Linked DNA regions of Homo sapiens: region 1 is linked to region 2. The links are contacts of gene promoters, found by promoter capture Hi-C in human tissues and cell types (Jung and others, 2019). All regions are on one chromosome and are shown on one strand. Each heading gives the region's core, a stretch centred on a gene start or on the middle of the fragment in contact. The rest is flanking DNA. Distances are from core to core; before and after follow the strand shown. Region 1 overlaps RANBP10 (RAN binding protein 10). Region 2 holds the start of NRN1L (neuritin 1 like).

Region 1 (6,276 bases), core at 2,174-4,673, 150 kb before region 2:
GATTCCCACCCTTGCCCCAGTGCTGCCTCTGTGATTCTCCCCTCCCTGGCCCTCCTCTGAGTTCACACACCTCTTCTACATATCCCCCAACCTAATGACTGGGCCCCATGGCCCCCATGGGCAGCTCTGTGGCCTTGGTTGGAAGCCAAACTCAGGTCAGCCTTGAGGTGTACCTGGGGATGCTGAGAGCCACCTAGAGCTCTAGCCTGCGGCTTAGCTTCCCCTGCCTGCCCAACCTGGCTGTCTACAAGCCAGAGCCAGGGAAAGCTCCCTCATGATGGACCCTGAGGGTTCTCACAGGCCCGGCCTCTTTGGAGGAGACCACATCCTCAGCCTGGCATCATTGGAGCCTCTGGAGAAAGCCAAGGCCAAAGAAAGTGCAGCTAAATCGTGGGGAGGGCCAGAAGCCAGAGCTGATGTCTGGCCCGGTGGGCCAAAAATTAGGACTCCAGGCACAGACCTGAGATGGAGGCTGGGGGTGAAGGGCAGGGCGCTCAAAGGACAGACTGCAATGGGCCCAGCTGGCATAAGGCAGAAGGCAGAGGAGGAAGCAGAGCAAGGCAGGCACCTGGTCTCCTGGTTACTGGTACTGCTGTGGTGCTGGGACTTGGTGGAGTCTGTTGAGTTGGACTCGGAGTAATTGACGGAGGATGGGGAAGAGGACGAGGAGGAGGAGGAGGACGAGGATGAGGAGCTGGGTGCAGGGTATTTACTGTGGTTCTGTTTGCTCTTGGTGGACGCGACGCCATTGCTACAGCTGGGACTGTCTGCTCCTAGAAGCCAGGGTGACAGTCAGAAGAGGAGGGGCAGCTTCCCATGAAATGAAGCCCCAAGAACAACCACAGTGGTCCCATTTCCCTTCTCCCAAATCCAGCAGTGAGCCCTGAGCCCAGCCCAGGAAAGGGTATGTGGAGTGGCCTCTCTCCTCCACACCAGTTCTTCCCAGAGCCCTCTGGAGAGTGGCTGACCTGTGTTGTGCATGTGGGAACTACTGGGGCCATGTCGGGGACTGAGGCTGGGGGAGCCAGGGTAGCTGTCCTGGGACTTGGGGCTTCGGGAGCTCAAACTTCGGACCTCACTGTCCGTCCCATTCACCATCTCCACAAACTGCCGGCACCTGTGGAGGGAGCGGAGCAATAATGCTCTGGTTGTGGTCCAGGTTGACGTTCCCACCACCAGCTGAGAGGGGCTGGACTCTGGGGGAGCTGGGGGTGCCCAAGACTTACTTGAGCATGAAGAGGAGGTTGGGGTTGTGCTCCAGCAGCCCTGGGTAGAAGCGCTGGGTGGTCTCGATGGCCTCGCCCACACGGCCCTCCAGCACCAGCTTCTGGATCTCTGCAGGGTGCAAGAACACAGCAGTGAGCGAGGGCTACAGGCCTCTCCCACAGCCACACACCTGGGATGCTGCCAGCCTCAGGGTAGGGTCCGGCTCAGAGTGCCTCGCCAGCTTGAAATGCTCACAGGAGAGGAGGCTGGAGAAAGAACCTGACTGCCCAGCCCAACAGATCCTGGTTTCTGCCAAGTGTCAGAGAGTCCTCAAGAATATGGGGAAGATGGAGGGGAGACTCTCAGCCCAAAGGCAGGAGGGTAAATGTGGAGGTCTGCTCCTGCGGGGCACATGGTGCCAGGGACCTGGGGGCAGGGTAGGGCCCCAGCTGGGGCAACATGATCTGGGGATGGGCACCCAGGCAGCTTGGCGGCCTGAGTGGCTCCTCTTCAGACAGACTCCTCTCCTTCCAGGCCTCACAGGGGAATGGCAATGGAATCACACTGGTTTCTGACCAGGGCTCTGGCTGGTGGTCTTCAGGGGCTGCAGCATGCCCCCTGCTGGGAGAGGAGGCCATCCTCCTCATGCTGGCACCTCTGATGTTGACACCTCTCACGCCATCAGCATCTTGCTGCTGCCTTTTCGCTCTTGCCGTGGGGCCTGGTGCATCTCGCTGGGAGCAACTTCAGAGTCTGAGGCTCTCATTCATAGATCCCAAGTCTGGGATCCCTTTCCGTCTGTCTGGCTGAGCACAGCTTCTCTGGGAGACAGACACGTGCACATACAGAAGAGACAGCAGGCTTGGAGAGGGGTAGGCAGGCACTCACAGACACGCATATCCACACCCACTTGCCCTCATTCTCCTTTTCTCCTTCTAGCTCCTCACTGGGCTCCTTTTCCTCTTTTCCAACACCCCTCCTTCCGTGAAAGAGCCTCCAGACACACAGCATCCAGGCCAGCATCAACACTGGGAGAGCTCTGGCCAAGGGAGGACTTTAGGTTGTCTGCAAAGGGCAGGACCAGTGGTGGGGAGCAGAGGGTAGTGCCCCCACAGCAGCCATTGAGCACTGGCTTTGCCCTATCTGACCACTTCAGTCCCCTCTCTGGCTAGGAATAAGCAGAACTACTAAGGCAGGCAAACAGCCTTCCTGGAAGACCATGAACAGGAGGTTGAGAGGAATCCAGGATTCAGGGGGAAGGAAACAAGCAGGGAGGAAATGGAGGAATGGAACCAGCCATGCCAGGGCCTGGCCTGCGCCCAGCCTTCAGAATGTGCATTAGGGAGGCTGCCCTGAGACGTCTCCATCCTGCCAACTGTCCATCTGGGCAGTGCCATCTTGAAGGTGGGACAGGAACATGGCCTCGAGCTGCAAGCTGGTCATGAGGACCAGAGCTGAATGGACTCCTGACAGGTTAACCAGGGTTGACATGAGCCAGAGAGCAGAGTTAGGGACAGGTGAGGAAGGGAAAGGGGAAAGTAGAATAAACCTTACTTTGTCTGTTCTTTATGGACGCCTGTTCTTCCTGAATCGGGGTTTCAGTCATTCGAGCAAAAGCCGTGGCTGTGGCACAATACCCATGATGCACGAGGTAAGATGAAACCATGCTAGAAGAAAGGAAGAGCTTCAGGTGACACTCAAGAACTGCACTTCTCACTGACTACCCAATGGACTCAGGACAGATTACCTCCCCCAGAGGTCTCCCTAAACACGTCCTGGAGGTGTAACCTCCACAGAATGAGAATAAAGGGGCTGAAACAAAATGAAAACTTCCCCCATGGTGCCCCACGGTCATGAAGTCAGGCTTCGGAGGGGCTGGTCACCACATCTGTGCCCACAGTTCAGAGGAGTGGCTGCAGTTTATCTGAGACATGCTGCCCACAAGTAAGCGAGTATGATAACAGAAGTACACACACAGGCACACTCCTCACAGGTGGCTGCCTCTTTGGGAAATGCAGCAAGCCTAAGAGGCCAATAGTCTCACTGATAGCTTCCCGAAACTGCAGCTAGCCAGGTAATCTGGCAGATTTCCAGACAGGATGCATGCCACATGCACACCTTCTACAGACACAGGAGCCCCTCTGCAGGCTGTGCCATGTACCTGAGAGAAGCATTTCAGCCCTCCAGGTGAACCTGCCCTCAGCAGTTCCAGCTCTAGTGAGTGAGTGATGGGAAGCTAACTCACAACCCAGAGTTACACCATGATACACCACAAATCAGGGGCCCAAGAAGCCAAGCAATCAGGCTGATTTTGCCAGGCAGAGATAGGCAGCAGCAGGGCCAATGGGAACACAGTCATTGGGAAATGGTCTGGAGAAGTCTGACTCCCTGTAGCCATTTAACCCCAGCAGAAGCTGGCTGAACAGTGGCACATGTGTGTACACATATAAAGCAGAGGCTGAACCCTCAAATCTGATGTGTACAGGAGTGAATACCTTGGTGTGTACATGTGTCTGATGTCATTACTGTAACTCTAAACACAAATGTCTGAAGGGTTGTCAGGTGGAAGGCACAGAAGTTTGGGTGTGTGTTCCCTCAAGCTTTAAGGGGTAAATGAGATAATACACATAAAGTACCTGGCAGGAAGAAGTCCATAAATAAGACTTCTTATTATGAAATGATATATTACATAATATTATAGTATAAATAATAATTATCAGCTGGGCGTGATGGCTCATGACTGTCATCCCAGAACTTTGGGAGGACAAGGCGGGAGGATCACTTGAGGCCAGGAGTTCAAGACCAGCCTGGCCAACATTGCAAGATCTCATCTCTACTTTAAAAATATGGCCAGGCGTGGTGGCTCATGCCTGTAATCCCAGCACTTTGGGAGGCTGAGGCGGGCGGATCACAAGGTCAGGAGATCAAGACCATCCTGGCTAATGCGGTGGAATGCCATCTCTACTAAAAAAATACAAAAAAAAATTACGCCCGGGCGTAGTGGCGGGCACCTGTAGTCCCAGCTACTCAGGAGGCTGAGGCAGGAGAATGGCTTGAACCCAGGAGGCGGAGCTTGCAGTGAGCCGAGATTGCGCCACTGCACTACAGCCTGGGCGACAAAGCGAGACTCCATCTCAAAAAAAAAAAAAAAAAAAAAAAATTATTGGCTGCGTGTGGTGGCTCATGCCTGTAATCTCAACACTTTGGGAGGCCGAGGCAGGAAAATCACTTGAGCCCAGAAGTTTGAGACCAACCTGGGCAACATGGCGAAACCCTGTCCCCACAAAAAATACAAAAAATTAGCCAGGTGTGGTGGTGCATGCCTACAGTCCCAGCTACTCAGGAGACTGAGGTAGAAGAATTGCTTGAGCTCAGGAGGTCCATGCTGCAGTGAGCCATGACTGTGTCACTGCACTCCGCCTGGGCAATAGAGTAAACTCCTGACTCAGAAAAAAGTAAAGTAAGTATAATTATTATTATTACACCATATTATTATTATAAACACAAGGGTAAATATGAAAAAGTCTTTATCTACAAGAGGGTTACCTACACAAGTAAAAGAGAAGGAATTACCTGACCTTCCACTAGAGGAAGCCAGCCAAAAGGCTTGTGACAAATTTGTCTCTGTGATAACATAGCCATTATCAATATTCATTAAATGAAGTTATGTAAAACCACAGTACACAAATTATATGCAGGTCTTGGCAAATGCTACATATGAACACATACAAGCACATGGATACACACATGTAAACAAAAACACCTATGTGCTATGCTGGACATGGTAGCACATGCCTGTGATGCCAGCTACTCAGGAGGCTGAGGTGGGAGGATCACTTGAGCCCAGGAGTCCAACCTGGGCAACAAAGTGCGACCCCATCTCAGTATTTTTTTAAAAACCCCAAAACAAAAACACATCCATGTGCTGAGCCTAGGCCCTGAAAACTGAGAGTATCAGTTCCTCCCCTACACAGACTTGGCATCTTCACCCCTCTTCTTGGCAATCCCACCAAGCCTGCTCTGGGAGTGGCGCTGTCCTGGCCATCCAAGGAAGTCCTTGTCATCTGCTCTGGGGGGCTGTGAACAAGAGGCAGCAATGCTGTTTTTCCTGGGGAAGGTCTGGCCACCTAGCCCCTGCCTCAGCCCATCCTTGGGGCCTGCCTCAAGGGACAAAGGCTGCACAAAGAACTCAGTGTGTACCCCAACCCCACCCCAGGAATCCTAGCACCCTGGTGCCTTTGCAGGGCAATGACCACAGGCAGTGGAAGCCCAGCCCTTCCCCATGCCCATCTGCCCATCCTTGAGAGCCAAGCTAACACCCACCTCCTGGCAGAGTGGATACTGGTCACTGCCTCACTCAGGCTTGCAGATGGCAAGTGGAAGAGAAACCCAAAGCTGGCCTCCCTTGGGAGTTCAGCGACACTGGCTTCCAGGACAGTCTGGGAATTAATCAGCCAAGGAGCTAGCTCAGCTGGTCCTAGGGAGAACTCCCTTCCCTCCACCACCGCTATAGACGAATGAGACTCAGTTGGATGCTGGGCCCTGTGAGGTGGCCTCAGGCCAGAGTCACAGCACCATGGATACTCCCTATGGTAGAAAAAGGGTCCACAGAGGAAGAGACCACAGGGCATCCTCTGCAAAATCCTCTGCAAAATGACCTGGGGAAGGAAAACAGCCCTGCTGGTGATCTTATATACAGGAGCCTCCAATATGGCTGAGAGGCAAAGGTTTAATTAGGAGCAGCCCGGAGAACTCGGTGGGAGCTGTCCATCCGACGACAGAGAAGCAGGAGAGCTGCAGGCTGAATGGCCCTGGGAATGCTTCCCAGAAAGGATCCACCCGCTGGAATTTGTAAGAACAGCTTGTAGCCCTACAGGGGCCTAGAGTGAAGTGGGCTGGGGTGGGGTGGGAGTGGGTAAGGGCAGGAGCAGGGCACTCACTTCTGCAGCACTGCCTGCCACTCGCCAAGCCGGGCACTGATGGGGAAGCAGTGGACCGTGCCCTGGACCTTGGCACGCCACTCCCGCATGTAGTCCTCAATGTCAAACAGGAAGGGCTGCTGCCCAAAGT
Region 2 (6,189 bases), core at 379-2,878:
CACCTTTGCACCTTCTGGCCCCAGCAGACTGTTCTTGGTTCCCTTTGGCCTCCAGGCCATTGTCCCTGCTGCTTCCTCTTCCTGGACCCCTTTCTTCCCACCTAGCCCACCTTGCTTTACAACTACCCTTCTCAGGAACCCATTTCCCAATCCCCTAGGGTAACTACACAGCCCTACAGGCTCTCTCTGAGTCCCTCTGGAGCTCTCACTAGCCCACCCTGTGGTCATCCTCCCCCAGGCCACACAGTTCAGACAAGCAGACATTCCATCCTGATATTTGCTATAAACACTGCTGCTTTTTTCTCCTCCAGGCGCTGACAGCTGCTGACCTGAACCTGGTGCTGTATGTGTGTGAAACTGTGGACCCAGCCCAGGTTTTTGGGCAGCCACCCTGCCCGCTCTCCCAGCCTGTGCTCCTTTCCCTCATCCAGCAGCTGGCATCTGACCTTGGCACTCGAACTGACCTCAAGCTCAGGTAAGTGGGGACAGCCAGGGATGGGGAGATGAGCTGGGGAGTGGGGCAGTGGGAGGGAGCAGTTTGAAGCTGACGCCCACTTCTGCCTGAATCCTCTCCCTAATTTTCTCCACCAGTCCTTTCTGCCTTCACCCAGAGGGTTCCCTCTGGGCCTCGGTGCCACCAGGGGGCGCTCCCGTCTGCTGGCACCCACCTGTAGCCTGTCCTTTCCCCCCCATCCCCAGCTACCTGGAAGAGGCCGTGATGCACCTGGACCACAGTGACCCCATCACTCGGGACCACATGGGCTCCGTTATGGCCCAGGTGCGCCAAAAGCTTTTTCAGTTCCTGCAGGCTGAGCCACACAACTCACTTGGCAAAGCAGCTCGGCGTCTCAGCCTCATGCTGCATGGCCTCGTGACCCCCAGCCTCCCTTAGCTGCTAAGCCTGCCTTGCCCAGGGGTGGGATGGCACTGAAGGCCAGCAGACAGGCCTAGGCTGGGGCAGGGTCACGGCTGGCCTTTACCTGCTCAGGCCCCCATCTCTGGGGTGTTTGGGGGTCAGGGAGCAGGGAGCACTGGCCGTGGTCTACAGCGTGTGGTAGTCAGAAGGTTTAGCTGGGCCCAGGGCAGGTATTGCGCCTGCTTGGGTTCTGCCATGCCTGGAGCATGACCCTGAGATCGTGACACCACTTGAGTGGAATTTTCCATGTTCCTTTTTACCTCTAATTTGGATCTTTTTGTTTTTGAAAAACATTGAGAAATTCAATTAAATGCTTTTGGAATAAAATGGAGTATGTGTGTGCTTTTGGTTTGTCTTTGGTGTGACTCTCATAACTGCCGTCTGTTCGTTCTCTGCCCATCTCTTGCCCGTGGAGCTCTGTCGAGGCCAACCCAGCCAAGGGGCCGGGTTACCCACTCATCTGCTCCAACTGCCTTCCCAGATCTCCCTTCTCCCTCCTTCTATGGAGTGAGGGTCCAGGGGCCTGCCCAGCACCAGCCTGTGCTCCTGCGAATTTCTGCTCTCTGAGGTCTCCTCGCTCCTTTTCCCATCTGGGTGTTGGAGGCGGAGCCGCCGGCTGGGTTCGGAGCCCCACCCCCAGCTCCCATCCAATCACCGTCCCTCCCTCCGGGGGCTGGGCGGACGGGCTGCACTCCAAGCAGCTAGCTCCTGCACTAGGCTCTCAGCCAGGGATGATGCGCTGCTGCCGCCGCCGCTGCTGCTGCCGGCAACCACCCCATGCCCTGAGGCCGTTGCTGTTGCTGCCCCTCGGTGAGTGCGGGCATCCGGGGCCCGGGCCACACCCCCTTCTCGCCCAGCCAAGCCAGGCTGGGCATAGGGTGTGTGGGAACGCTGGGTGCCAGGGTGGAGAAGAGTTGTAAGGGCTCCAGGAAGGTGTGCTGGTGACTTCAGGACAGAAAGTGAGAGGCACAAACAGCCCCAGTTATGGGAGAAGGACTCCAAAATTTGCATCCCCTCTTATGATAAAGGGAGACATGCCAATGGCAGGACTTATAGACCAGTCGTAGGATCCCTAAGTCCTCTCTGAGGGTCTGGCCTGGATCCCAATACCTCTGCATCCTGCCTTGTCTCTCCAAAAATATTTATCTTTAGAGAGAGTTCGGAGGGCCAAGCAAAGCTTGTCTAAACCGCAGAGAGATGCACCTGCTCCTGGTCCGGGGCCTCTGGACCTCCCTCCCCTCCACCCTGTCCTGACTCCTTTACATGGACCCTTGTCACCCCACCTGCGGCCCCAGAAGCTCAAAGGAAGAGCTGACCTGGGGTACACAACACCCCCTTCCCCTGTACAAATCCCAGTCTGGGTCCTACCTTGAAGGGGGCCTGGGTAGGTAATCCCCAGACTTGCCCTTTAGTTCCCTGGGGCACCCTTTTTCCGCTGAGTCACATCCCCAGAGTGCTCCCAGGTAAACAAGCCCCTGGGGGCTGGGGGATGAGCCTGGCTCATCCTATCTACCATTCCTTCCCCACCCCACCCCCGCCCCACTTCTAGTCCTTTTACCTCCCCTGGCAGCAGCTGCAGCGGGCCCAAACCGATGTGACACCATATACCAGGGCTTCGCCGAGTGTCTCATCCGCTTGGGGGACAGCATGGGCCGCGGAGGCGAGCTGGAGACCATCTGCAGGTACCGGCGGGTGTGAGGCAGTGGCCCAACCTGTGCCACCATTGGGGACTGAACCTTTTATTTCCCAAGCTAAAGTCTCCTTGCCTCACCTAATCCCCCTAATCCCACTCCCTTAACAGGTCTTGGAATGACTTCCATGCCTGTGCCTCTCAGGTCCTGTCAGGCTGTCCGGAGGAGGCAGCTGCAGTGTGGGAATCACTACAGCAAGAAGCTCGCCAGGCCCCCCGTCCGAATAACTTGCACACTCTGTGCGGTGCCCCGGTGCATGTTCGGGAGCGCGGCACAGGCTCCGAAACCAACCAGGAGACGCTGCGGGCTACAGCGCCTGCACTCCCCATGGCCCCTGCGCCCCCACTGCTGGCGGCTGCTCTGGCTCTGGCCTACCTCCTGAGGCCTCTGGCCTAGCTTGTTGGGTTGGGTAGCAGCGCCCGTACCTCCAGCCCTGCTCTGGCGGTGGTTGTCCAGGCTCTGCAGAGCGCAGCAGGGCTTTTCATTAAAGGTATTTATATTTGTAGTAAGCTCCTTCCTTTCTCCTGGCTGTGGCCTTGCTTGCGGCTGGGGCCAGGGACTCCTAGAAACTGATCCTTTGCTTGGATGGAATGGGCGGGGCTGAGGGCCACCACAGGGGCCCTCAATCTTCCTCCTTACAAACACTCATTTCCCAGTGGCAGCGCAAAGCTTTCCATTTCATGCAGGCCCCAAGAGCTCCTCCAGTGGAGACTGGAGATCTGCCAGAATGCACAGTCTTCCTCTACCTTCCTGTGCGGGTTGAGATCGGGAGGGTGGGGTCTCAGCCCTGCACTCCTAGCACTGCCTACCCCTTCTATCCTGGCCCCTGGGGGCCAGGTGAGCTGGTGAAGTGCCCTTGATCTCAGCTCCACCCCCTCCCCAGCCTCTGGGCTCCTGACCATTTCACCTCCTCCTCTCTCTGCCTGTCACCTCAGCCTTCAAGGCATAGCACAGACTATGTGCTCAGTCCCTTCCTCTGGTTTTCTGGTCTATCTGAGGGAGGCCTGTTCTAGAAGGTGGGGAGCCTTTGTTGAAGTCCACATTCAAGCCCCTGATGTGACCTGAAGTGGCAAAAACTGGAGTCACCATAAGGGTTCCTCTGGCCTCTGCTCTCCACAAGCTTGTTCTTTGAGAAGAGGTAGGCAGTGTGTAGTCAAAACAATTGCAGAAGGCTTTCTGGAAGCCGTGGAACAAGAGCATGTGGTGTGCGAGGAGCCCCTCTTCATACCGGTGGAAAGGAAGAGCAAAATCAGCTAGGCAGAGGAATCTGAGGAAGGAGAAAGCCTTCTGGGGGTAGGACCCTCTTCTGATCAGCCTTCTCCCACCACCGCCAGGATCCTATTCCAAGCCATTACCCCACGGTTTACAGAGGCACTGCCATAGTCTCCTCATTGACTTCTATTATCACTCCCTCCACTTTATTCTTTACTTTTTTTTTTTTTCTTGTCACCCAGGCTGGAATGCAGTGGCACAATCTCGGCTCACTGCAACCTCTGCCTCCCGGGTTCAAGCAATTCTCCTGCCTCAGCCTCCCTAGTAGCTGGGATTACAGGTGCCCGCCACCATGCCCGACTAATTTTATATTTTTAGTAGAGATGGGTTTGCCATGTTGGCCAGGCTGGTCTCGAACTCCTAACCTCAGGTGATCTGACCCCCGCGGCCTTCCAAAGTGCTGGGATTGCAGGTGTGAGCCACCATGTTTGGCCTTATTCTTTACTTTCTTTTTTTTTTTTTTTTGAGACAGAGTCTCCCTCAGTCGCCCAGGCTAGAGTGCAATGGCGCGATCTCTGCTCACTGCAAGTTCCGCCTCCCGGGTTCACACCATTCTCCTGCCTCAGCCTTCCGAGTAGCTTGGACTACAGGCGCCCGCCACCACGCCTGGCTAATTTTTTTTGTATTTTTAGTAGACGGGGTTTCACTGTGTTAGCAAGGATGGTCTCGATCTCCTGACCTCATGATCCACCCGCCTCGGCCTCCCAGTGTTGGGATTACAGGCGTGAGCCACCGCGCCCGGCCTATTCTTTACTTTCTAAATTGAAAAACTCAGCCAGGCATAGTGGCTCAATCTTGCAGTATCACCTCCTCTAGGAACTATTCCCTAACCCTGACTACAAGCTGAATCAGAAGGCTCCTCTAGGTCCACACAGCTCCTGGATTCCCTTCTGCCTCAGTACTGATAGCACTAGCTTGTTATTGTCTAGGTACAGGTCAGAATTCCCCACTGTGGATTCCCCAAGGGCAGGAAGTCCTTTTTGTCAGAATCCTCGTTGTGTCTCTAGCATCCAACCTAGGGCTGGATATAAAGGGTGCACTTGTGGGAGGGTGTGGAATGAAAGATAGAACTCCTAAGTCCAGCATGGGTAGTGCTACAGTAAGCAAGAGCTTGGACTGAGAATGACCCCACTGTGGAGGTGTGTCATCTTGGGGTGGCACCTTTACTCTGGGCATACTGCTGGGAAGGATGGTGCTGGGGCTGTATACCCCAGAAGTCTTCCAGAGCTGGTCTTGGATGGCTAGGAGCAGGGGCCTGGCTGTTCTGGCTGGCCGTCAGGGAGATTACCATCCTCCTGCTGTGGCCTACTTTTCCCCTGGTTTTTGCTCTCTAAGTCCCTACTTTTCCATGGAATAGAGCGGGGCTTGGGGAGGGGGGAAAGAATCTGCTCTCTGGCTAGGGGCTTAAGGGCTTTGTGTGTTTTATCCTAGAGCTGGAGGAGAGGGGTGGGCTGATAGCCAAGCTGGCTGGGCCCTGGGCACAGCTGCCCAGGCCAGAGCATCATGGTGATGGTGTTTCTCACATTTGCAGCACCGTGGACAAGGAGTACCTTATTGTTCTGAGAGAGCCTGGGGGATGGATGTCCTGAGCCCAGTCCCCTCTGCATTAATATATCTCTTCACCTAAGGACCTCCCTCCTGCTCTTCTCCAGAGCCCAGACCAGCACATAGTAAGGGTTCAATAAATATTTGTTAATTAATGCGCTGAATGTCTGTAAAACAGGAGTGTTGTGTAGATTTCTGAGTGCCATCAACCCTGGAATTCATATTCCTTTTAACCCTCACAACAACTCTGTAAGGTCAGGATTATGACCCCCCCTTATATTTTATTTTATTTTTTGAGACAAGGTCTCATTCTGTCACTCAGGCTGGAGTGCAGTAACTCAGTCCTGACTCACTGCAGCCTTGACCTCCTGGGCTCAAGCGATTCTCTAGCCTCAGCCTCTTGTGTAGCTAGGACTATAGGTCTGTGCTACTAAACCCAGCTAATTTTATATTTTTGCAGAGACAGGGTCTCATTATGTCACCCTGGCTGGTCTCGAACTCTTGACCTTAAATGATCCTCCTCCCTCAGCCACCCAAAGTGTTGAGATTACAAGCACAGAGCTATCCTCATTATATAGCTAAGAAAAATGAGGCTTATGGGCCGGGCATGGTGGCTCATGCCTGTAACCCCTGCACTTTGGGAGGCCGAGGCGGGTGGATCACCTGAGGTTGGGAGTTCGAGACCAGCCTGACCAACATGGAGAAACCCTGTCTCTACTAAAAATACAAAAAATTAGAATTAGCTGGGTGTGGTGGTGCATGCCT

Evidence for each region. The method cuts DNA at HindIII sites, captures the fragments that hold promoters and counts their contacts. A contact is called where the count stands out against the background at its distance.
Region 1: a fragment that was not itself captured here is called in contact with the fragment with the promoter of NRN1L in region 2 in 1 of the 25 tissues and cell types used here (IMR-90 fibroblasts).

What each region holds. Positions count from the first base shown.
Region 1 is chr16:67,728,712-67,734,987 of GRCh38, forward strand. RANBP10 (RAN binding protein 10) reads right to left here. Exons shown (of 14, transcript NM_020850.3): 6 at 6,147-6,276; 7 at 2,761-2,873; 8 at 1,227-1,335; 9 at 969-1,117; 10 at 569-773. Among named protein-coding and RNA genes, the nearest start is that of GFOD2, 13 kb to the left of the region's middle. The HindIII fragment of the contact is 3,468 bases long and covers 1,690-5,157 here.
Region 2 is chr16:67,883,257-67,889,445 of GRCh38, forward strand. NRN1L (neuritin 1 like) reads left to right here and starts at 1,629. Exons shown (of 3, transcript NM_198443.2): 1 at 1,629-1,726; 2 at 2,466-2,598; 3 at 2,718-3,112. The coding sequence starts at 1,648. The coding sequence ends at 3,003. EDC4 (enhancer of mRNA decapping 4) reads left to right here. Exons shown (of 29, transcript NM_014329.5): 28 at 312-475; 29 at 700-1,243. The coding sequence ends at 892. RefSeq lists enhancers at 721-900, 1,206-1,715, 1,716-2,223. The HindIII fragment of the contact is 2,833 bases long and covers 1-2,684 here.